6 separate regions of the Homo sapiens genome follow, and regions 1, 2, 3, 4 and 5 are each linked to region 6. Evidence: promoter capture Hi-C in human tissues and cell types (Jung and others, 2019). All regions are on one chromosome and are shown on one strand. The core of a region is centred on a gene start or on the middle of the fragment in contact, and the rest is flanking DNA. Distances in the headings are between cores, read along the strand shown. Region 1 overlaps ZNF709 (zinc finger protein 709). Region 2 holds the start of ZNF443 (zinc finger protein 443). Region 3 overlaps ZNF439 (zinc finger protein 439). Region 4 has its middle 49 kb from the start of ZNF823. Region 5 has its middle 56 kb from the start of ZNF627. Region 6 holds the start of ZNF136 (zinc finger protein 136).

Region 1 (3,812 bases), core at 687-3,186, 300 kb before region 6:
TCTAATGTGTCCACCAGGCAACCATTTAGACTCTTAAGGTTGGGAATATTCTCTGATGCTCTGACTCACCTCATCTCTAGGTTGAATTTATCCAAGGTATTATTTATGTAATAAACACCATGTTTTGTTAACAGTACCAGTGACTATGTGTTTCTGATTCCACCGTGACAACTACAGTGGTGCAGTCAAAAAGAACTACATGGGTGTCTGCTTCTCCACTGCACTGTGCAGGGAATGCACTTACCCAGTCCTACAGTGTAAGAATAAGCACCTTCCTAATATCAAGCAGATTGTCGGTGTTTCCTATTACAGTTGAATGTCATCTCTCAGTACATTTTCAATTTTGTTTCATTATATGTGATTAAAAACCATGTGTATGTTTTTGTTGAACAAAAGCTTCTGTAGATGTTTCTTAGAAATATTTTATTAACTTTTCAAATAACTTGTATGCTATCACTTGTCTATTTAATTTTCTGCAAGGATATATTAAAATATTCCATTGCAATTATAGATTTTCAGATTAAGTTTTTTTATTATTATACTTTAATTTCTAGGGTACATGTGCACAACGTGCAGGTTTATTACATAGGTATACACGTGCCATGTTGGTGTGCTGGACCCATTAACTCGTCTTTTACATTAGGTATATCTCCTAATGCTATCCCTCCCCCCTCCCCCCACCCCATAACAGGCCCGTGTGTGATGTTCCCCTTCCTGTGTCCAAGTGTTCTCATTGTTCAATTCCCACCTGTGAGTGAGAACATGTGGTGTTTGGTTTTTTGTCCTTGTGATACTTTGCTGAGAATGGTGGTTTCCAGCTTCATCCATGTCCCTACAAAGGACATGAACTCATCCTTTTTTATGGCCGCATAGTATTCCATGGTGTATATGTGCCACATTTTCTTAATCCAGTGATTTTCAGATTAAGTTTTTAAGTTTATTGAGTTAATCCTCATATATTCTGAGTCAATATTATGTGCATACAAGATCAAGTATTTTCCTTAGGAATTTTTTATTTTTTATTCTTAATATAGTTATGATTTTTTCCCAGAAAATTTCTCATGCATTCATAATACCAAAAACTTAAATCATGGTTGTTTCAGTGCCTTTTTTTCAAAGATCACCAGGATCACACCTGTAGTCAAGAGAAGAGTGTTAAGAATTGTAGGAATAAGAATGATCATAAACCATAAATGACTCTGGGGAGTATCAGTAAGAGGGTGCTCGGCTGGGCGCAGTGGCTCATGCCTGTAATCCCAGTACTTTGGGAGGCCAAGGTGGGCAGATCACAAGGTCAGGAGTTCGAGACCAGCCTGGCCAACATGGTGAAACCCCATCTCTACTAAAAAATATATAAAAAATAGCCGGGCATGGTGGCGTGCACCTGTAATCCCAGCTACTCAAGAGGCTGAGGCAGGAGAATTGCTTGAACCCCAGGAGGTGGAGGTTGCAGTGAGCCGAGATCACGCCACTGTGCTCCAGCCTGGGCGACAGAGCAAGACTCCTTCTCAAAACAACTTCTTTTTGGATTTGGATTTGTTGGGTGACTTGATTGCTAATCACCAAACTGAGACACTCCTGTGTGTGTTGCCTGCTGTGAGGTGAACTTAATTGTGTCACTGGTAATCATAATTCTTATCTAGAGGCAGGAAGAATGAAGTGGAGCTAAACCTAATTCCTAAGAAACCACTCACTTGGATTAGTGAGTAGAGGGCAATTTTGGTCATTTTAATGGCTTCAACTCTGTTCTCTTTTACCATTTTTAGAGACATGGTTATTGTTTTTGTCTTGATCCATCATGATTGCTGAGTAGCTTTGTCTGATGAAGGAAATGTGACATTTTTCTCTTCAACAGGATAAGACTTGGCCTTATCTGAGTGTGAGGTCAGATCCTAGTCCTGTGGAACTGCTCTTAACCTTTCTTATTATCTAAACATGGAAATATTTCTTATGGTGTATTGGACAATGTTTTCCACAAAATATCTCAGTCAAAATATGTAAGTTCACTGAGTCTTTAGCAAACTATATACTTTTTTTTCTCTTTTGTGCACTAGCAGAGTCCTGTAAGTGTAGATAAGTTTTCAGAGACCACAAACCTAGCAAGGTGCAAAGACAGAATCACTGTTCAAATCAAGCCATCTTGCTCTTGATGCTGATTTTTTTAACCTTTCTCATAGGCCTGGCACTGTAGTATCAAAGCATACACAATTCAGCACAAATAATCAAGACATTGTAGGCTATGGATATAGAAACATGAAACAAGTTCTTGCCTTCCTGTTGCTTATAGATTTGGGAAAAGAGAGATGGTTAATAAAAGGTGAGGATTTGGTTTTTAGAAAGCAATTAAGATCTTTGAAGGAAATGAAATAACAACCAACCTGTGAGATTAATAGGGAAGCTATGGTTGTGTTGGATACCTTAGCTTTGGAGGGTAGGGACCTCCAATATTGTCATTGATCATTTATTTCCATTATCTAACATATCTTTTTTTTTTTTTTTTGAGACAGGGTCTTTCTCTGTCATCAGGCTGGAGTGTGATCTTGGCTCACTGCAACCTCCGCCTCCTGGGTTCAAGCCATTCTCCTGCCTCAGCCTCCGGAGTAGCTGGGATTACAGGCGCCCACCATCACGCCCAGCTAATTTTTTTTTTTTTGTATTTTTAGTAGAGACGAGGTTTCACCATGTTGGCCAGGATGGTCTTGATCTTCTGACCTCATGATCCACCCGCCTCGGCCTCCCAAAGTGCTGGGATTACAGGCGTGAACCACCGCGCCTGGCCTTTTTTTTTGTTTAGACGGAGTCTCACTCTGTTGCCAGGCTGGAGTGCAGTGGCGTGATTTTGGCTCACTGCAACCCCCTCCTCCCAGGTTCAAGTGATTCTGCTGCCTCAGCCTCCTGAGTAGGCTACATGTGTGTGCCACCACGCCCAGCTAATTTTTGTATTTTTAGTAGAGACGGGGTTTCACCATGTTGGCCAGGATGGTCTCAATCTCTTGACCTCGTGATCCACCTGCCTCAGCCTTCCAGAGTGCTGGGATTACAGGCATGAGCCACTGAGCCTGGCCTATCTAACATATCTTATTAAAACACTGAGGAACTGCTCAGGTTTGATGTATGCTGGGGAACAATACAGTCCTACATCCCTGGGATGAACAGTAATGATTCCCCATAAACAAAGGTGTAGATATGGTTCATCTTTATTTTTATAATGGATAAAATTTTTGAGACATGTAAAGCATGATCATGAATTTGGACATGAGTATTTAGGATTTGAGATTTCCTATTGATTTGGGCCACAGGTGTTGATGATGTTTACATTTCTGTTTAATGTCATTTTAAAGATTCTTAAGTTGCCTTGGATATTTGACATGATCATTTTGCTGTTGTGCAGACTGAATGACCCAATATGTACCACCCAAAAAATCTATGGATGTTTAGAGGGTAATTTTCAAGGAATAATGGAGGTGAGCTGCAGACAGGGAATCATTTTGCATAATAGCCTAATTTAATGGAAAGGAAGAATATTTGGTGTCATCATATAAGGAAAAATTTAATGCCTTCTTACAAGAGTAGTAGTTTGAATCTTTTTGTTTCAATGCTTCCAGAAAGTCCCCAGATCCCAATTTGGTATTCACATGTTTGGGAAGAGTGGGGGGAAAGTAAAATATTTGTGTCTTACTAAATTTGAGCAAAGGAAATAAAATCTTTGTCCATTTTTTTTCAGTGGTAACTTATGTTAGTACTTAGCACTGTGATTTCATAATTATAAGTATCTCATTTGATTGCTCAACCAATCAGTTCTCCCATCTTAC
Region 2 (3,800 bases), core at 980-3,479, 280 kb before region 6:
TAATAAAAATCAGTAGAAATAAATGAATTTGAAATGAAGAAACAATAGAAAAGAACAATGAAACAAAAAGTTGGTTTTTTGAAAAGACAAACAAAATTGACAAACCTTGAGGTAGACTAAGAAAAAACCAGGCCCAAATAAATACAATTAGAGGTGAAAAAGGAGACATTACAGTTGATACTGCAGAAATTCAAAGGATCATTAATGCAACTAAGAACAACTATATGCCAATAAACTGGAAAACCTAGAAGAAACTGATAAATTCCTAGGCAGATAGAACATAGCAACATTGAACCATGAAGAAATAAAAAACCTGAACAGACCAATAACAAATAATGAGATCAAAGCCATAATAAAAAGTCTCCTAGCAAAGAAAACCCCAGAACCCAGTGGCTCCACTGCTGAATTCTACCAACATTTAAAAAAGAACTAATACCAATCTTACTCAAACTATTCCAAAAAACAGAGGAGAAGGCAATACTTCCAAATTTATTTTACAAAGCCAATATTACTTTGACACCAAAACCAGACAAAGACATGTCAGAAAAAGAAAACTATAGGCCAGTGTCACTGATGAATATTGATGCAAAAATCCTCAACTCAATACTAGCAAACTGAATTTAACAATACACCAAAAAGATCATTCATCATGACCAAGTGGGCTTTATCCCTGGGATGCAAGGATGGTTCAATATATGCAAATCAATCAATGTGATGTATCATTTCAACAGAATAAAGGGCAAACACCATATAATCATTTCAATGTGCACTGAAAAAGCTTTTGATAATATTTAACATCCCTTCATGATAAAAACCCTAAAAAAAAGTGGGTAAAGAAGGAGCATACCTTAACATAATAAAAGCTATATATGGCAGACCCACAGCTAGCATGATAATGAATGGGGAAAAACTGAAAGCCCTTCCTGTAAGATCTGGAACACAATAAGAATGCCCACTTTTACCACTGTTGTTCAACACAGTACTTGAAGTCCCAGCTAGAGCAATAAGACAAAAAAAAAAAAAAGAAAAAAAAAGAAATAAAGGGCATCCATATTGGGAAGGAAGAAGTCAAATTATCCTTGTTTGCATATAATATGATCTTATATCTGGAAATACCTAAAGACTCCACCAAAAAAGTATTAGAACTGAGAAATAAATTCAGTAAAGTTGCAGTATACAATATCAACACACAAAAATCAATAACATTTTTATATGCCAACAGTGAACAATCTGAAGCTACTTGAGAGGCTGAGGTGGGAGGATTGCTTGAGCTTAGGAGGTAGAGGTTGCAGTGAGCCATGATGGCCCCACTGCACTCCAGCCTAGGTAACAGAGCAAGACCCCATCTCAAACAACCAAAAATGTGTAGAAGGATGGTTACCAGAGGCTGCGAAAAGTAGTAGCGAGGAGTAGTTATGGGGGAAGTGGGGATGGTTAATAGGTATAAAAAATAGTTACAAAGAATGAATAAGACCTAGTATTTGCTAGCACAACAGAGTGACTATAGTAAAAAATAATTTAATTGTACATTGAAAAATCTTGAAAAATTTCATTGAAAAAGAGCATAATTGGAGCCAGGCGCAGTTGCTCACGCCTCTAATCCCAGAACTTTGGGAGGCCAAGGTAGGCGGATCACGAGGTCACGAGTTTGAGACCAGCCTGGCCAACATGGTGAAACCCAGCCTCTACTGAAAAATACAAAAATTAGCCGGGTGGTGGCGCGTGCCTGTAATCCTAGCTACTCGGGAGGCTGAGGCAGGAGAATTGCTTGAACCCACCCAGGAGGCGAAGGTTGCAGTGAGCCTCGCACCATTGCACTCTAGCCTGGGCGACAGAGCAAGACTCCCTCTCGAGGAAAAAAAAAAAAAAAGATATAATTAGTTTGTCAGTCCGTGTCCAGGAGGAAGAAGCAGGAGGTCCTATTGAGTACGGGCAGGAAATTCCGCTTAAGTGCAAATATAACCCGGGAGGATTCAGATCAAAGAGCAGGGAGGAAGCCCCCCCTGCCAAGGGCTGTGTCAGGAACTTGCTCATCCGGCTCCACTCAGCTGTGCAAGATCGCTTCTTCTGTCAATCAGCCCTCAGGGGGCGGGACCTGACGCCCTATCCAATCAGGGGCGTGGGGCGGGTTCGTGGGAACTGTCAATCAGGCACTGCCCAGAGAAGTGTGTGTGGTTGAAAAAGCCCGCGGCGTCTGCTCCACCCACCTGCGCTCGGCTCTGGGTTCTGTAGCTGAGAGACGACCTGGAAGTTCTGAGGCAGCCTTTGTCTGGCTGGAACACGCATTGGCAGCGGGAGCTGTCGGTAGGACCTGGGACACCGCGGAAGTCGGGAAATGGTGCGTGTGCTGGGCCGGCGTCCCGAGGCGGGGGAGGGGTTAGGTGGAACCGGCCGTAATCGGCTGTGGCTGGACCCGGGCCTCCCCAAGGGCGACTTCGGGATCTACGGACCCGGGTCCCCCTGGCGTAGGTCGGCCCTCGGCCGCAGGGTGGGGCTGGGCATGCAGCCGGGACCCCGGGCGTCCTGTCCCGTTCCTGCGCGGCGACTGCGGCCCCGGCGCCCTCTCTGGGCAGCTCCGAGCCCGCAGCCCCGGGTCTCCCCAGATTGTGCGGCTGTAACCAACACAGGTTCGCGGCCCGACTCACTGCACCGAGACGCCGAGGGCTGCAGCAGAAACGGTTTAACAGGAGGAGAGGGGAGGACACCCCAGATCCGCCTCCCTGAGGGATTTGGGGTCTGGACGGGGGCGGCTGGGTGTAGCGTCCTTGGTTGGTGGGGAAGTGAGGGGTGAATCCTGGGACAGGAGGTGAAGAAACCGCATTCTGCTGAGAGGGCTCCCTCGTGGGGTCTTCAACCTGGTTGGCGCCAGCCTTTCTGCTGGGATTCAGGATCTGAGAACTCCGGCGACTCTTGAGCAGCACTCGGAGATCTTATCCCCAGGCACAATGGGGAAGCCGGCGGTCAGCGTCTGCTGTGACCTGACTCTCAGGGAGGCGGCCCCTTGAGGCAGCGGGGCTGAGGGCACCTGTTTAATATCTAACTGCAATCTCGCCTCCAGCCTGGCTCGCAGTTCCTGTGAACCCGGTGAGGAGGCTGCACGGTGACGACGAGTCACCAGGTGGAATCCAGACTCGTGTGTGGGGTTTGTGTGTGGGAGGAGCTGTGGTTTCCGTGGTCCTCAGTCCTTTCTTCCTTTCCAAGGGCGACCGTTTCCCCTCTGAGTCTTCCAAAGACGTGGGCAGCAGGGTCTCAAATCCACCACTGTGTTCTCTCATCCTGACTCTTCCTAGGGCTGGCAGCAAATCTCTTGGTTTCCAGAGACTTCCCCAGGCTAACCTTCTGTCCTTAATTCACAGCAACAGTATGAACTGTTTGGCCCCAGGCGATATTTCACTAGTTTGTCATCTTGTTTTCAGCTAGCAATGTATGGCTTTTTCTTGAAAGAATTGTTTTGGGTTCCTGAACACGGTGGGTCATTCCTGTAATTCCAGCACCTTGGGAGGCTAAGGCAGAGGTATTGCTTGATCCCAGTAGTTCCAGACCAGCCTGGGCAACATGGCAAGACTTTGTCTCTAGTGTAAATGATAATAATAAAATTAGCTGGGCTTGGTAGCTGGCACCTGTAGTCGCAGCTACTCCTGAGGCTGAGGTGGGATGATGGCTGGAGCCCAGGAGTTTGAAGTTGCAGTGAGCTATGATCGTGCCTCTGCATCCCAGCCTAGGCAACAGAGGCCGACCCTGTCTCAAAAAAAATGGATGTCCACAGCTGCCAAGTCTCTTGGAGGGTCTAGTGAATATCA
Region 3 (3,455 bases), core at 912-3,411, 310 kb after region 6:
TGTTGGCCAGGCTGGTCTCGAACTCCTGACCTTGTAATCCACCTGCCTTGGCCTCCCAAAGTGCTGGGATTACAGGCGTGAGCCACTGTGCCTGGCCACAAACACATAATATCTCTACTTTGATGATTTTGGGTTGCATCCCTGGGCTATGGATTCCCATTAATCTGTCCAAGCCTTGGGCTGCCACCCCTGCTTTGCACTTTGTGAAACTTCTTCTAACTCAGCTTACTCATCGTGCCCGTAGAGCCTTAGGCATGATAATTTTGGCTATTGTTTCCTTGGTCACACCAAAAACTTCTGTTGTGATGTACTCCATCACTTTGCATAGTTCTATTCAAACAGTTCAGTACGTGCAGAACTGGATGCATACAGCCAACCAAGTGTGGCTACTTCATAATAGAATTAACACTGAGTTACAAACTGAAGTGGCAATGTTGAAATCCATAGTTCTATGGTTAGGGGAACAAGCACAAAGCTTACAATTGCAACAGCAATTGTGCTGTCATCTTAATGCCACTCATATTTGTGTAAACAACTTAGAATACAACCAAAGTGAGCATCCACGGGACCTTTGATATTGGTGAACTGCAAAACAAAATTCTTGACTTAAATAAGCAAACTCAAGAGTTTCAGCCTTCCTTAGAAGTCTGGAGTGAATTCCTGCAAGGCCTAGAGAGCCTCAATATTTGGACCAATCTAAAGCACTATATTAACATCTCATATATAGTTATTGGAATGATGTTGTTTAGTCTCTGTTTTTTGTTCATAGTCTGTAAAATCAGATGGACCGCCAATCAGAAAATGAGAGCTGCCCAACCTGGCCTTACATTCATTCAATTAATGCATAAACAGAAAGGGAGAGATGTTGGGAGCCCAAGGCCCAAAGGTTGTGACCAACTCAGCTTTCCACTGAAGGCTATATGATAAACAGTGAACTGTTTATCATGAATGCAGAATGTGGGCAAACTCACATCTGCTTCTGCTGCCAGAAGGTATACTGAGGACAATCACTCCCTGGTGCTGTGCTGCTTGAGGTTATCTACTGGGACATCTGGAGCCTATTGTTTGAAAAATGCAGTCATGCAGGCCTGCTCTAAATCAAGTAGCTGACCTACAACCACCCGCTTCTCTCTATCCCCTTTACTCAGTAAACATGAAGGGTGCTAGAAGCTCGGGGCCCACGTTCACTACAAGCAAGAAGCCCCCTGACCCCTTGTTCCAAACATATTCTTTTGCCTTTGTCTTTATTCCCGCATTCGTCCTCCTTTGTTCAATCCAGTAGGGTCCGTGGTACCTAACGACCCTGAAATCAAATTGAAATACAACTCTTGAAAATTACTAATTTAGGCCAGGCGTGGTGGCTCACACCTGTAATCCCAGCACTTTTGAGAGTCCAAGGCAGGTGGATCACGAGGTCAAGAGTTCGAGACCAGCCTGGCCAACATGGTGAAACCAAGTCTCTACTAAAAATACAAAAATTAGCCAGGCGTGGTGGCAGGCGCCTGTAATCCCAGCTTCTCAGGAGGCTGAGGCAGGAGAATCGCTTGAAACTGGAAGGCAGGGGTTGCAGTGAGCCGAGATTGCACCACTGCACACCACCCTGGGCAACAAGAGTGAAACTTCGTCTCAAAAAAAATAAATAAATAAAATTACTAATTTATAGAAAAATGAAATTTATGCTTAATCAGGCACAGTCCACCAATTAACCTCTGATTACATAACTAGAAATTTTCTACCTATATAGGCTGTTGGAAGAAGTAAGTCAGGCCAGCCATGGTGGCTCACACCTGTAATCCCGCCACTTTGGGAGGCCAAGGTGGGTGGACCACTTGAGGACAGGAGTTGGAGACCAGCCTGGCCAATGTGATAAAACCCTGTCTTTACTAAAAATACAAAAATTAGCCGAGTATGGTGGCATGTACCTGTAATCCCAGCTACTTGGGAGGCTAAGGCAGGAGAATTACTTGAACCTAGGAGGTGGAGGCTGCAGTGAGCTGAGATTGCACCACTGCACTCCAGCCTAGACGACAGAGTGAGACCCCGTCTCAAGACAAACAAACAAACAAAAACAACCAAGTAATTCAAATATTTAAGCTGGTGCATCTCTAAACTGTCTTGAAGCAATGTGATCATGGGGTTGAGTCACATGACACACAGCTTTCAAATAGCCAGCTGGAACACCTCTTTCCTTGATTACAGATTCGCCTTCCTTCTTACCTATACTGTTTTATAAAATGTTGTAAATGACTGAAGGGAAACAGGAAAGACCCTTTCCCTCTTTGCTATTTTTAATTTATTTAATATGATTTTTCACAATTGAGATGGGGGGTCTCACTATGTTGCCCAGGCTTGAACTCCTGAGATCAAGCCATCCACCTGCCTCAGCCTCCCAAAGTGCTGGGGTTACAGGTGTGAGCCATCCCACTGGGCCCCTCTTCACTACTGATCTCTGTAGTAGACTAACTTCCCTCTTAACTTTCTCACACAAAGACTTCATGGCTATCACATTGTCTTCAGTTGGAATGTTGAATTCACTCTTTTAAATTGAAAAGGAAATAAAAACCAGCTAGAAAGAAAAGAAAACAAGCTCTGGGGGAAAAAAGCAAACGATAACAAATTAAGTTGTTAGCCAGGTGCACTGGCTAACGCCTGCAATCCCAAGACTTGTGGAGGCCAAAGAAGGAGGACTGTTTGAGGCCAGGAGCTAGAGACAAGCCTGGGCAATGTATCGAGACCCCACCTCCATAAAAAATTAAAAATTACCCAGGTGTGGTAGTGGGCGACTATAGTCTCAGCTACTTGGGAGGCGGAGGTGCTCAAGATGGGGAAGTCAAGGCTGCAGTAAGCCGTGATGGCACCACTGCTCCAGCCTGGGCCACAGAGCAAGACATTGCCTCAAAAAAAAAAAAAAATTAAATTATTGTACCTCATACATCAGCCTTCTATGGAAAATGTAATCCTATTATATTTATTTGCCGTTTCCCTATATAAGTGTTAGGGAAGCAGGTGCCTAGGGGAGCCAGAGAAAGACCAACCAGCTCCATCTTGAGACTAACAAGAAACACTCCTTGCCAGTCACAACCCATAGTCATAAAATGTTTCCCATGAAGAAAACAGCCTGAAGATGCCTGCAAGTATCCTTACACTCCCACAACGACAGAATGTCCCGATGTCCCAATACCCCAATACCCATAATATGTGCTTTCAAGGTAATTATAGTTATGCTTTAATGCACTTGTGCACTAAAATGTAAAGGATAGTTTTCTTTAAATCAACAGAGTAATAAATTTTGTGATGCTGTCAGCCCACATGCAGGTAGGCACAGCTTAGTTTATTCTTTACATAGACAAGATCCCTACATAAGAAAAACTTAAGACAGTACATTCCTCCTCTTGCTGTATGAGGATGCCCTACTCTGTAACAGAGAAGCTTTCTTTCTTCTTCTTCTTCTTTTT
Region 4 (3,822 bases), core at 1,000-3,499, 470 kb after region 6:
CTAGTTTCCTGGGGTGGAATTTACAGCATTGTTTTTTAGATCTTTACTTTCAAGAGTTTGCATTTAATTATTTAAATAGCTCTCTAAGCACTGCCTTTGCTGTATTCTACAAATTTTGCTAAAAGTTTTTTTCAATTTTTGGAATATTTAAGTATCTCTGGAGAATTCTGTCTGTTGCATAGTTTAGAAGTTTGTGGTTTAAATCTTTACTTTCTGGAGGCTTTTAAACTATGCTTCTGCTATTGATCTCTAGTTTAATGCTAATACGGTTTGATTTCGTATTTTATGGAATTTGATTTTTTTAAATTTGTTAAGGTATGTTTTATGCTATGTGGTCTGCCTTGGTGAATATTCCATGGTCTCCTGTTTCAGCCTCCTGAGTAGCTGGGACTACAGGTGCATGCCACCACACCCGGCTAATTTTTGTATTTTTAGTAGAGACAGGGTTTCACCATGTTGGTTAGGCTGGTCTCAAACTCTTGATCTCAGTTGATCCACCCACCTCGGCCTCCCAAAGTGCTGGGATTACAGGCATGAGCCGCCGCGCCCGGCCTGAATGTGTATTATCTATATACACCAGTAAAAAAGACAGGCACTGGCAGAGTAGAATTAAAAACAAGGCCCAGCAATGTGTAAAAGATAACCATTTTCAACAGAAAGACACAGATACCTTAAATAGAAAGGTATGGTGAAATATATGCCATTCTAGCCCTACTCAAAAGTATGGAACGGCTATATTAAATTCAGATAAATCAGGTTTTTTGGTTTATTTATTTATTTATTTATTTTTCGAGACAGGGTCTCTGGCACCCAGGCTGGGGTGCAGTGGTGTGATCACAGCAACCTGTGCCTCCCGAACTCAAGCAATCCTCCCACCTCATCTGGGACTACAGGCGTGTGCTACCATGCCTGGCTAATTTTTGTATTTATTTTTTGTAGAGACAGGGTCTCTCCATGTTGCTCAGCTGGTCTTGAGAACTCCTGGGCTCAAGTGATCCACCCATCTTGTCTTCCTGAGATGAATCACGAGGTCAGGAGATTGAGACCATCCTGGCTAGCATGGTGAAACCCCGTCTCTACTAAAAATATAAAAAATTAGCCAGGCGTGTTGGTGGGCACCTGTAGTCCCAGCTACTCGGGAGGCTGAGGCAGGAGAATGGCGTGAACCCGGGAGGCGGAGCTTGCAGTGAGCCGAGATGGCACCACTGCACTCCAGCCTGGGCGATGGAGCGAGACTCCATCTCAAAAAAAAAAAAAAATACACATTCAAAGTGGTAATTGACATAGATTAATATGTTCATATATATTGTTTGTTGTACTTGTGCTTTTTTTCTACTTGCTCTATTTTTCTGCCTTTTAATTGAGCGTTCTATATGATTCCATTTGCTTGCTTCTATTAGTGTAGTAAGTCTACTTGTTTCTTAAATTTTATTAGTGAATTCCATAGTTTGCAGTATACATTTGCAACTAATGGACTTTCATTTTCAAATAACACTATACTGGTGTCTGGGGTAGTGCCAATATGTTAAGAGTGTTCTGAATTCCTCTTTCCAATCCCATATAATATCACTGTCACGCATTTGACCTGTTAGAAGCTATAACCACCCAATACATTGTTGATATTCATTTGAACAAACATTTATCTATGAAGGAGAAGAAAAGATAATCATATTTGTGCCCTCATTTAATTATTTTCTAACAAGTTTTATTTCTGAAACATCTGCTTTCCTAACCTGTATCAGTTTCCTTCGCTCTGAAGAACTTTAACATGACTGGCAAGGCAGGTATACTAGTAACACATTCTCTCAATTTCTTTCCTCTTTCTTTTCCACAGACTGGTAATTTTTTTCTTTCTTTTTTTTTTTTTTTTTTTTTGAGATGGAGTTTCACTCTCGTTGCCCAGGCTGGTGTGCAATGGCGTAATCTCGGTTCACTGCTACCTCCACCTCCTTGGTTCAAGCTATTCTTCTACCTCAGCCTCCCAAGTAACTGGGATTACAGGCATGCACCACCACACCCAGCTAATTCTGTATTTTTAGTAGAGACAGGGTTTCTCCATGTTGGTCAGGCTGGTCTCGAACTCCCGACCTCAGGTGATCCACCCACCTGGACCTCCCAAAGTGCTGGGATTACAGGTGTGAGCCACCGCGCCTGGCCCAGACTGGATAATTTTAATTGTTTCATCTTCACAGTTGCTGATTCTTTGTTATGTTAGCAAGTAGTGAATTGGCTCACTTCCAGATGTACACACAAGCCAATAGCATGGCACCAGCTTTTGAAGAAAGAAAAGCTTTACTACAAGTTTGACTGGCAAGGAGAAAGGAAGAAATGCTCAAATATGTCTCCCTGAGCTGGGGGCTTTGGCAAGTTTTATAAGCGTGGGGTAATAAGACATGAACTCACTGCATCTTGCAATGATCTCATGCCAGGTTAATGTGACTCGATTGGATCCTGCCATGGGATGATACCGGGGCCCAACCTGATTAGATCCTAGATTCCACCATGTGGTATCTTTTTTTTTTTTTTTTTTTTGAGACAGAGCCTCACTCTGTAGCCCAAGCTGGAATGCAGTGGCATGATCTCGCTCACTGCAACCTTCACCTCTGGAGCTCAAGCAATTCTGCCTCAGCCTCCCAAGTAGCTGGGACTACAGGTGTGCGCCACCACACCTGGTTAATATTTTGTATCTTTCACAGAGACAGGGTTTTACCATGTTGCTCTGGGTGGTCTTGAACTCTTGAGCTCAGGCAATCCACCCACCTCAGCCTCCCAAAGTGCTGGGATTACAGGCATGAGTCACCGTGCCCAGCATCTACTTTTTACTTTAATCTCCACACCTCAGTCCAAGCATATAGGTTCCACCCATGGTTACACATTTGGTTCATCTGGGCATGCTCAGATTATGTGACCTTGAGTGTTGGGTCCATGGCAACTGAAAACTCAGCTTTGTTATATAGAAGTTGTACCACATAATCTGTTGTGGTTACAAATCCCTCCTATTATGTTCATTCCTAAGTCTTGAAGGAAAAGGAATGATAACTGCTCTAACTACTTTCTGCTGATTAGAGTCATAGACCTTAGAGGAATGAAAGTATTTAGTGCTTTGCTCTGGGAGTTCCCTGGTATCAGCCAGGTGCGGTGGCTCACGCCTGTAATCCCAGCACTTTGGGAGGCCGAGGCACGTAGATCACAAGGTCAGGTCGATTGAGACCATCTTGGCCAACAGGGTGAAACCCCATCTCTACTAAATGACAAAAAATTAGCTGGGCGTGGTGGTGCGCACCTGTCTCTCAGCCACTTGGGAGGCGGAGCTTGCAGTGAGCTGAGATCACGCCACTGCACTCCAGCCTGGGCAACAGAGCAAGACTCCGACTCAAAAAAAAAAAAAAAAAAAAAAAAAAAAAGGAGTTCCCTGGTATCAAGATCACATTTTAGAAGGCGTTATTTCTACATAGTTCTGGGGAAAAGGCATAAGGAGTTTGCAACCTAAACATTATTTGTTCCAGAGAACAAGGGAAAGCTTAGGTTTTATAGCAAAAGTTCCCATCTGGGTTCCTAGTCAAGTGCTTTTATGCAAATGAAGATCTGAAACTTGAAACTCAGTTCTGATTGGTTGATACAGCTGAGCTCTGATTGACTAGCTCAGGTGAGCCCCCAAAGTTAAAAAGGTGTTGGTTTTCAGGAAACTCACAGTGCTTGTGACCCCTAGTTAACAAGTGGCGGCTTAGCTCTTTTTAAAACTTAGGCCCAGTTAGCCAGTGTGAAGGACTGACTCTAACCCGTCCACAGACAGCATTCATAAGTTTTTGTGTGTGTTCTATC
Region 5 (3,358 bases), core at 859-3,358, 510 kb after region 6:
ATGGTGAAACCCTGTCTCTACTAAATACAAAAAATTAGCCGGGTACGGTGGCGTATGCCTACAGTCTCAGCTACTTGGGAGGCTGAGGCAGGAGAATCGCTTGAAACCAGGAGGTGGAGGTTGCATTGAGCCAAGATTGTGCCATTGCGCTCCAGCCTAGGCAACAAGAGCAAAACTCTCTCAAAAAAATAATAATAATATGAATTTCAGGGGACAAATAAAGCAATAATTTTCTACCTGCTCCCTAAATTTATGACCTCACATGCAAAATACATGCTTACCATCCTAACATCACCAAAAGTCTTGACTTGTTTCAGCATACTCTGAAGCTTAATATCAAAGTCGCTTCCAGGTCACCAGAGATAACATGGCCAAAACCATTGCAAGATGTGTTTGATGATTCAAAGAGAAAGAAAAAACAGCTTTTCCTATGACAACGTTTCCAACTAAAGCATCTGCAATTATGAAGACTGAAACTTCAGCAGGGTGCGGTGGCTCACGCCTATAATCCCAGCACTTTGGGAGGCCAAGGTGGGCAGATCATCAGAGATCAGGAGTTCAAGACCAGCCTGGCCAACATGATGAAACCCTGTCTCTGCTACAAATACAAAATTTAGCTGGGGATGGTGGTGTGCGCCTGTAATCCCAGCTATTTGGGAGGCTGAGGCAGGAGAATCGCTTGAACCTGGGAGGCAGAGGTTGCAGTGAGCTGAGATCGTGCCACTGCACTCCAGCCTGGGCGACAGAGACTCCATCTCAAAAAAAAAGAAAAAAAAAAAGGACTGAAAGTTCGATGCTTAAATATTTTCAGCCCTCAAACACCACAGATCCAAGATTTGTGTTACTGACCTTCCACCAAAGAGGCAACATCTGCAATCAGATGTTGGTTCTTCCAGCAGAGGATCCTCCTGATGTCCTGAAAGAAAATTCTGGCCGGGCAGGGTGGCTCATTCCTGTAGTCCCAGCACTTTGGGAGGTCAAGGTGGGCAGATCACGACGTCAGGAGTTCAAGACCAGCCTGGCCAACATGGTGAAACCCCATCTCTTCTAAAAATACAAAAATTAGCCGGGTGTGGTGGCGGGCACCTGTAATCCCAGCTGGTTGGGAGGCTGAGGCAGGAGAATCACTTGAGCCCAGGAGGTGGAGGTTGCAGTGAGCCGAGATCACACCATTGCACTCCAGCCTGGGTGACAGAGCAAGACTCCATCTCAAAAAAAAAAAAAAAGAAAATTCAAGTTAAACTGATGTCCCCTGACTTATCTACACTGCCACATATCTAAGCACCTCAACACACTGCAGCTTTAGGAACCACAGAGCAATCATCACATGAGGGTTATCAGGAGAGAAGAACCAAGGATTTGGAGAATGTTAACACGTGTTTTTGAGGCCATTAAATGAAACCAATCCAAAACGTTTTTTAAAAAAAAAAGAAAATGTTTCATTGTAGCTGACATATACTATGAGGTGGGCCTGTACTATGGAGGTGGGCATGTGATGGTTATCTGTATTAAACATCTACAGATGTTTTTTCTTGTCAGCATTCCCTAAATAACACAATGAAACAACTATTTTTATATCGTTTACAATGCATTAGGCAGTATGGATAACCTAGAGATGATTTAAAGTGTACAAGAGGATGTGCTTAGGTTCTAGGAAAATACACCATTTTATATAAAGCACTTGAGCATCTTCAGATTTAGATGTTCTGAAGTGGGGAGCGGGGTGCCTGCAACTAATCCCCTGAGAATACCAGGACATGACAGTATTTCAGAGAAACAGAAACTACACAAGGCGTTACCACATTTTTTACACTCATAGTTTCTCTCCAGAGTAAATTCTTTCATGTATCTAAAATAAACAAGGAGCATGGAAAACAAGAATCGTTTTCCATGTTCCTTACAGTTATGAGGTCTATCGCCAGCATGTCACACCATATGCCTTCAAACGATTGAGAGAGAAAGGAAAGGTTTCCCATGTTCCTAACATCATTGTTTTTCTCAAGTGTCAGTTCTTTCATGGTTTCAGAAGGTACTGGAATAGTGGAAGGCTTTACTTTTTTTTTTTTTTTTTTTGAGACGGAGTCTCACTCTGTCACCTGGCTGGAGTACAGTGGCACAATCTCGGTTCACTGCAACCTCCACCTCCCAGGTTCAAGCAATTCTCCTGCCTCAGCCTCCCAAGTAGCTGGTACTACAGGCACATGCCACCACGCCCAGCTAATTTTTGTATTTTTAGTAGAGATGGGGTTTTACCATGTTGGCCATGATGGTCTCAATCTCTTGACCTCATGATCCGCCCGCCTTGGCCTCCCAAAGTGCTGGGATTACAGGCGTCAGCCACCGCACCCAGCCGGCTTTACATTTTTTATATCCACACAACTTTTCTCCGTTGTGAGTCCTTTCATGTCTTTGAAGGGAACTGTGATAACAGAAGGCTTTCCCACATTCCTTACACTCAAAGTTTCTCTGCAGTGTGGGTAATTTTATGTCTACGAAAAGCAACAGGATAACGGAAGGCTTCCCCACATTCCTGACATTCATAAGGTTTCTCTGCAGTGTGGGTAATTTTATGTCTATGAAAGGTCGTGGGATGACTGAAGGCTTTCCCACAGTCCTCACATTCATACGGCTTCTCTCCAGTGTGAATTCTTTTATGTACTCGAAGTGAACTGGAATATCTGAAGGCTTTCCCACATTCCTGACATTCATAGGGCTTCTCTCCAGTGTGAGTCTTTTCATGATTTTTAATAGAACTGGGAAATCTAAAAGCTTTACCACATTGTTTACATATATAGGGTTTCTCTCCAGTGTGAATTCTTGCATGTTTTCTAAGGGAACTGGAACAATTAAAGGCTTTCCCACATTGCTTACATTCATAGGGTTTCTCTCCAGTGTGAGTCCTTTCATGATACTGAAAGGAATTGGAAGAAGCGAAGGCTTTCCCACATTGCTTGCATTCATAGGGCTTCTCTCCAGTGTGGATTCTTTCATGTTTTTTAATGGAACTGGAACAACTAAAGGTTTTCCCACATTGCTTACATTCATATGGTTTCTCCCCGGTGTGCATTCTTTCATGTCTATGAAAGGAGCTGGGAAAACCAAAGGCTTTCCCACATTCATTACATTCATATGGCTTCTGTCCAGTATGAGATCTTTCATGTGTGAGATATAAACTGAGATTATCAAAGGCTTTCCCACAAAACTTACATTTATAAGGTCCATCTCCACTGTGCACTACCCTGTATCTTCGAACGGTTTGGGGAGAATCGAAGGTTTTTTCCCATTCCTTACAATCATAGGGTTTCTCTCCTGTGTGAGGCTTTTCATGTGTTTGGAAGGAGTGGAGGCAGCTGAAGGT
Region 6 (3,574 bases), core at 358-2,857:
TGGGAGGCCAAGGCAGGCGGATCGCGAGGTCAGGAGATCAAGACCATCCTGGCTAACAAGGTGAAACTCCGTCTCTACTAAAAACACAAAAAATTAGCCGGGCGTGGTGGCATGCGCCTGTAGTCCCAGGTACTGGGGAGGCTGAGGCAGGAGAATCGCTTGAATCCGGGAGGCAGAGGTTGCAGTGAGCCGACATCACGCCACTGCACTCCAGCTTGGGCGACAGAGAGACTCCGTCTCAAAAAAAAAAAAAAAAAAAAAAAGTTATCTGGGAGTGGTGGCGCAAAACTGTGGTCCCAACTACAGGGGAGGCTGAGGCAGGAGAATCGCTTGAACCCAGAAGATGGAGGTTGCAGTGAGCCGAGATCACGTCACTGCACTCCAGCCTAGGCGACAGAGCGAGACTCTTTCAAAACACACAAAAAATTTTCTTTTCTCAATCCTCAATACCAGCATCTGATTGGCTGACCACCAGTGTGTCTCCAAAGGATGGAAACTGGGGTTGGGGGAGGAAAAGCTGAGTGCCCCCAGAGGTTGGCTATTTAGAAGCAGGGTATGCTAGATTTATCCTAGTCCCAGGGCATTCTCCCAGCCTTCTATTTCAACTGTCCTCTAGGAAGACTCACCCAAGACCCAATATTCACTAGATCCTCCAAGAGACTTGGCAGCTGTGGGCAGCTTGAGTCAGCCCCAGACAGTTTTGAAACCCAGAACCAGGAAAAAATAAATAGGAGGGGGCGCTGAAGGCATATCACCCTGTAAAGATTCCAAAGGGGAACCTCAACTCAAAGACATTCTGATGAGGTATCTGTGCATAGAGGAGACAAAAGGACAAGCACAAAGGTTTCTTACAGCGGAGTGTCAAGGCTATGAACAGAAAACAAACCTTGATGAAAGAGTAATCCATTGCTTTGTTGAAAAATAAACAATGAAAGCACAATATCTGAAATGTAGAATATAGGAGAAACGGTTGCTAATGTCGTGAATGGAAGGGGAGAGGTTGGCGTTTGGAAAAGCGAAAAGAGAACAGGAAATTTGGGGATTTACTGCAAGCCCTGGAAACAGCAGGCTGGGGGACAGAGTGAGGATTTGGGACCCTGCATCCCATACACTTAGAAAACTCAGGGAAAAACGGGTGTCCTCTGTGGAGAGAAAAGGAACTGGGAACCTCATACACCACAGCTCCTTCCACGCACAAGTCAGGATTTCCCCCACCCCATGACCCTCGCGTGGGCCCCGCACAATCTGAAGAGACTTGGGTCTTCGGGGCCGGGGCCGCAATCGCGGCACAGGGCGGGACGAGGACGCCCGGGGTCCCGGCTGCCGGCCCAGCCCCACCCTGAGGCCGAGGGTACCAAGGGCTGAGCTGCGCCAGAGGGACTCGGTACGCAGACCCAGAGTCGCCCACGGGAAGGCCCGGGCCGCGCCACAGCCAGTTCCGGTCGTCCAACCAGCCCCTCCTCCCTGTCTCGGGACGCAGGGCCCGACACACTCACCATTTCCTGACTCCCGGGTGTCCCAGCTTCCTCCCTCCGGATCCCAAGGCAGGTACAGGAAACCGCGCCACAGAGACTCCAGGCGAGCCACTCTGGGCCTCTGGGACTAGCGAAGCGAAACCAAGTACGGCAGACGCGAGAAATGAAAATCCCGCGAGAAGGTTGAACGTCTGCAGCTGCGTCCCCGACGGCGCGCCTGATTGGACCGATCGCAGAGCTCCTCCCCGGTGCCCCTGATTGGGTACAGCTTCGGGCTCTGCCCCCTGCATCTTGACAGATGTGAATGACAGGAGATGTGAAGCATAGATGAGTGAAGCGGGAATGAGGGGTCTTGGCCCCAGCCCTCAAACGCAGGGTGGACTTCTTCCCCTCGTCCCCTTCACTGTACTTGGTCTGCGGGGGATGGGGAGATGGGAGATACTTGCATTTTAGCAGAACTTAATCCGGGTTTACCAAAGGAGATACTTCCTGTACTCAGTGGGTCATTTCTTCATCTACCTCTTGCATGAGGAGTCACAGGTGTGCGCAGGGAGTTCCAGGCAGGACTGGAACAGAAGAAAGGGCGTGATATTCCCAGGGATCGGAAATTTGGGATGAGGATATGGGAAGCGTGCCCAAGGCTTTCTCATACCATACCTCTTTATCTCTCTCTATTTTTTACTTTATTTACTTATTTATTACTTTATTTACTTATTTATTACTTTATTTATTTATTTGAGACAGGGTCTAGCTCTGCCACCCAGGTTAGAGTGCAATGGCATGATCATAGCTCACTGCAGCCTCCATCTCCTGGGTTCAAGCGAACCTTCCGCTTCAGTCCCCTGAGTAGTAGAGACTACAGGTACATGCCACCAAGCCCGGCAAATTCTTTAATTTTTTGTAGAGACGGGATTTCGTTTGTTGTCCAGGCTGGTCTTGAACTCCTAGCCTCAAGTGAACCTCCCACTTTCGCCTCCCAAATCAATCTACTCATTTTCACCCAAGAAAATAAAAAACTGCCAACAAGTGAATAAAATTATTAAATACATGGAAAAACAAGTTCTATTTCCGTAATCTGTAAAGAAATCAAAAGGGAAGTAAAGCGAAAATTTGAACTAGCTCAGATAAGCAGGGCACTTCAGAACATTTAAAAAGGAAAAGATGAATTCAGAAGGTAGAACATATTCCCAAGCTTAAGAGTCAGTGACTGCTGAAGTGGAGCCACAGAGTACATTAGACCCTGATGATGAGGCAGGAAACCTAAGGATTTAACTCTGGGAGCTCAACATGCCCTCCTGTCACAGCATCACAATGTGGGAACGCTCCCTCCTTCAATACCTTAATAATTTACACCAGCAGAAAACTCTCACCTGTGGTCAATTTAGGCCCCTTGAAATTCCAACCTCTCTAGCTCATAAACCATTTCTCTGGAACGCTACCTAAATGAGTCTCTAAATATGATCTTTACATATTTTCTTCATATATACAAATTACAGCCTGACTGCAGCAACTCTATACATAGAAAAATCAAGGCCGGGCACAGTGGTTCATGCCTGTAATCCCCAACACTTTGAGAGGCCGAGGCGGGCGGATCACTTGAGGTCAGGAGTTCAAAACCAGCCTGGCCAAGATGGCGAAACCCCGTCTCTACTAAAATTACAAAAATTAGCCGGGCGCCTATAATCCCAGCTTCTGGGGAGGCTGAGGCACAAGAATCGCTTGAACCCGGGAGGTAGAGGTTCCAGTGAGCCGAGATCGCGCCACTGCACTCCAGCCTGGGTGACAGAGCAAGACTCCGTCTCAAAAAACAAAAAGTTTTCCGGAAAACTACCTTGGGAAACTAGAGGTACAACCTCAGAAAGGAGAGAAACCCGCACGTGCATTTGCCTGTGAAGTTCCTGCTTTCCAGGGCTCTGCAGCTTCTCAGAATCCACACTCCTGGAGCTGGAGCTGGAGCTGTTCGGAGCAGCTGGAGACTACCTACAGGGGAAGGCAGGCTGCCCAGGAAGCAATCGGGGGAGCTCCCTTTCCCTCCCTTTGCAGGCTCCAGATTAGTCTCAGTGTGGATCACCGGCCTCAGGCTATGCTGCCCCCTGCAA

Evidence for each region. The method cuts DNA at HindIII sites, captures the fragments that hold promoters and counts their contacts. A contact is called where the count stands out against the background at its distance.
Region 1: a fragment that was not itself captured here is called in contact with the fragment with the promoter of ZNF136 in region 6 in 1 of the 25 tissues and cell types used here (liver).
Region 2: a contact is called between the fragment with the promoter of ZNF443 here and the fragment with the promoter of ZNF136 in region 6, in 3 of the 25 tissues and cell types used here (adrenal gland, mesenchymal stem cells and small bowel).
Region 3: a fragment that was not itself captured here is called in contact with the fragment with the promoter of ZNF136 in region 6 in 1 of the 25 tissues and cell types used here (lymphoblastoid cells).
Region 4: a contact is called between a fragment that was not itself captured here and the fragment with the promoter of ZNF136 in region 6, in 2 of the 25 tissues and cell types used here (adrenal gland and lymphoblastoid cells).
Region 5: a contact is called between a fragment that was not itself captured here and the fragment with the promoter of ZNF136 in region 6, in 1 of the 25 tissues and cell types used here (dorsolateral prefrontal cortex).

Annotation. Positions count from the first base shown.
Region 1 is chr19:12,457,882-12,461,693 of GRCh38, reverse strand. It overlaps ZNF709 (zinc finger protein 709), which reads left to right. Exons shown (of 4, transcript NM_152601.4): 4 at 1-510. Among named protein-coding and RNA genes, the nearest start is that of ZNF443, 19 kb to the right of the region's middle. The HindIII fragment of the contact is 6,925 bases long and covers 1-3,812 here.
Region 2 is chr19:12,439,450-12,443,249 of GRCh38, reverse strand. ZNF443 (zinc finger protein 443) reads left to right here and starts at 2,229. Exons shown (of 4, transcript NM_005815.5): 1 at 2,229-2,338. The coding sequence starts at 2,336. RefSeq lists an enhancer at 1,781-2,050 and a silencer at 2,461-2,550. The HindIII fragment of the contact is 16,773 bases long and covers 1-3,800 here.
Region 3 is chr19:11,851,120-11,854,574 of GRCh38, reverse strand. All of the region lies in intron 1 of ZNF439 (zinc finger protein 439), which reads right to left. Among named protein-coding and RNA genes, the nearest start is that of ZNF439, 4.1 kb to the right of the region's middle. The HindIII fragment of the contact is 4,001 bases long and covers 161-3,455 here.
Region 4 is chr19:11,687,642-11,691,463 of GRCh38, reverse strand. No RefSeq gene overlaps it. Among named protein-coding and RNA genes, the nearest start is that of ZNF823, 49 kb to the left of the region's middle. The HindIII fragment of the contact is 6,716 bases long and covers 1-3,822 here.
Region 5 is chr19:11,651,903-11,655,260 of GRCh38, reverse strand. It overlaps the pseudogene ZNF887P. Among named protein-coding and RNA genes, the nearest start is that of ZNF627, 56 kb to the right of the region's middle. The HindIII fragment of the contact is 4,182 bases long and covers 18-3,358 here.
Region 6 is chr19:12,161,129-12,164,702 of GRCh38, reverse strand. ZNF136 (zinc finger protein 136) reads right to left here and starts at 1,607. Exons shown (of 4, transcript NM_003437.5): 1 at 1,497-1,607. The coding sequence starts at 1,499. RefSeq lists enhancers at 1,507-1,666, 1,677-1,766. The HindIII fragment of the contact is 18,447 bases long and covers 1-3,574 here.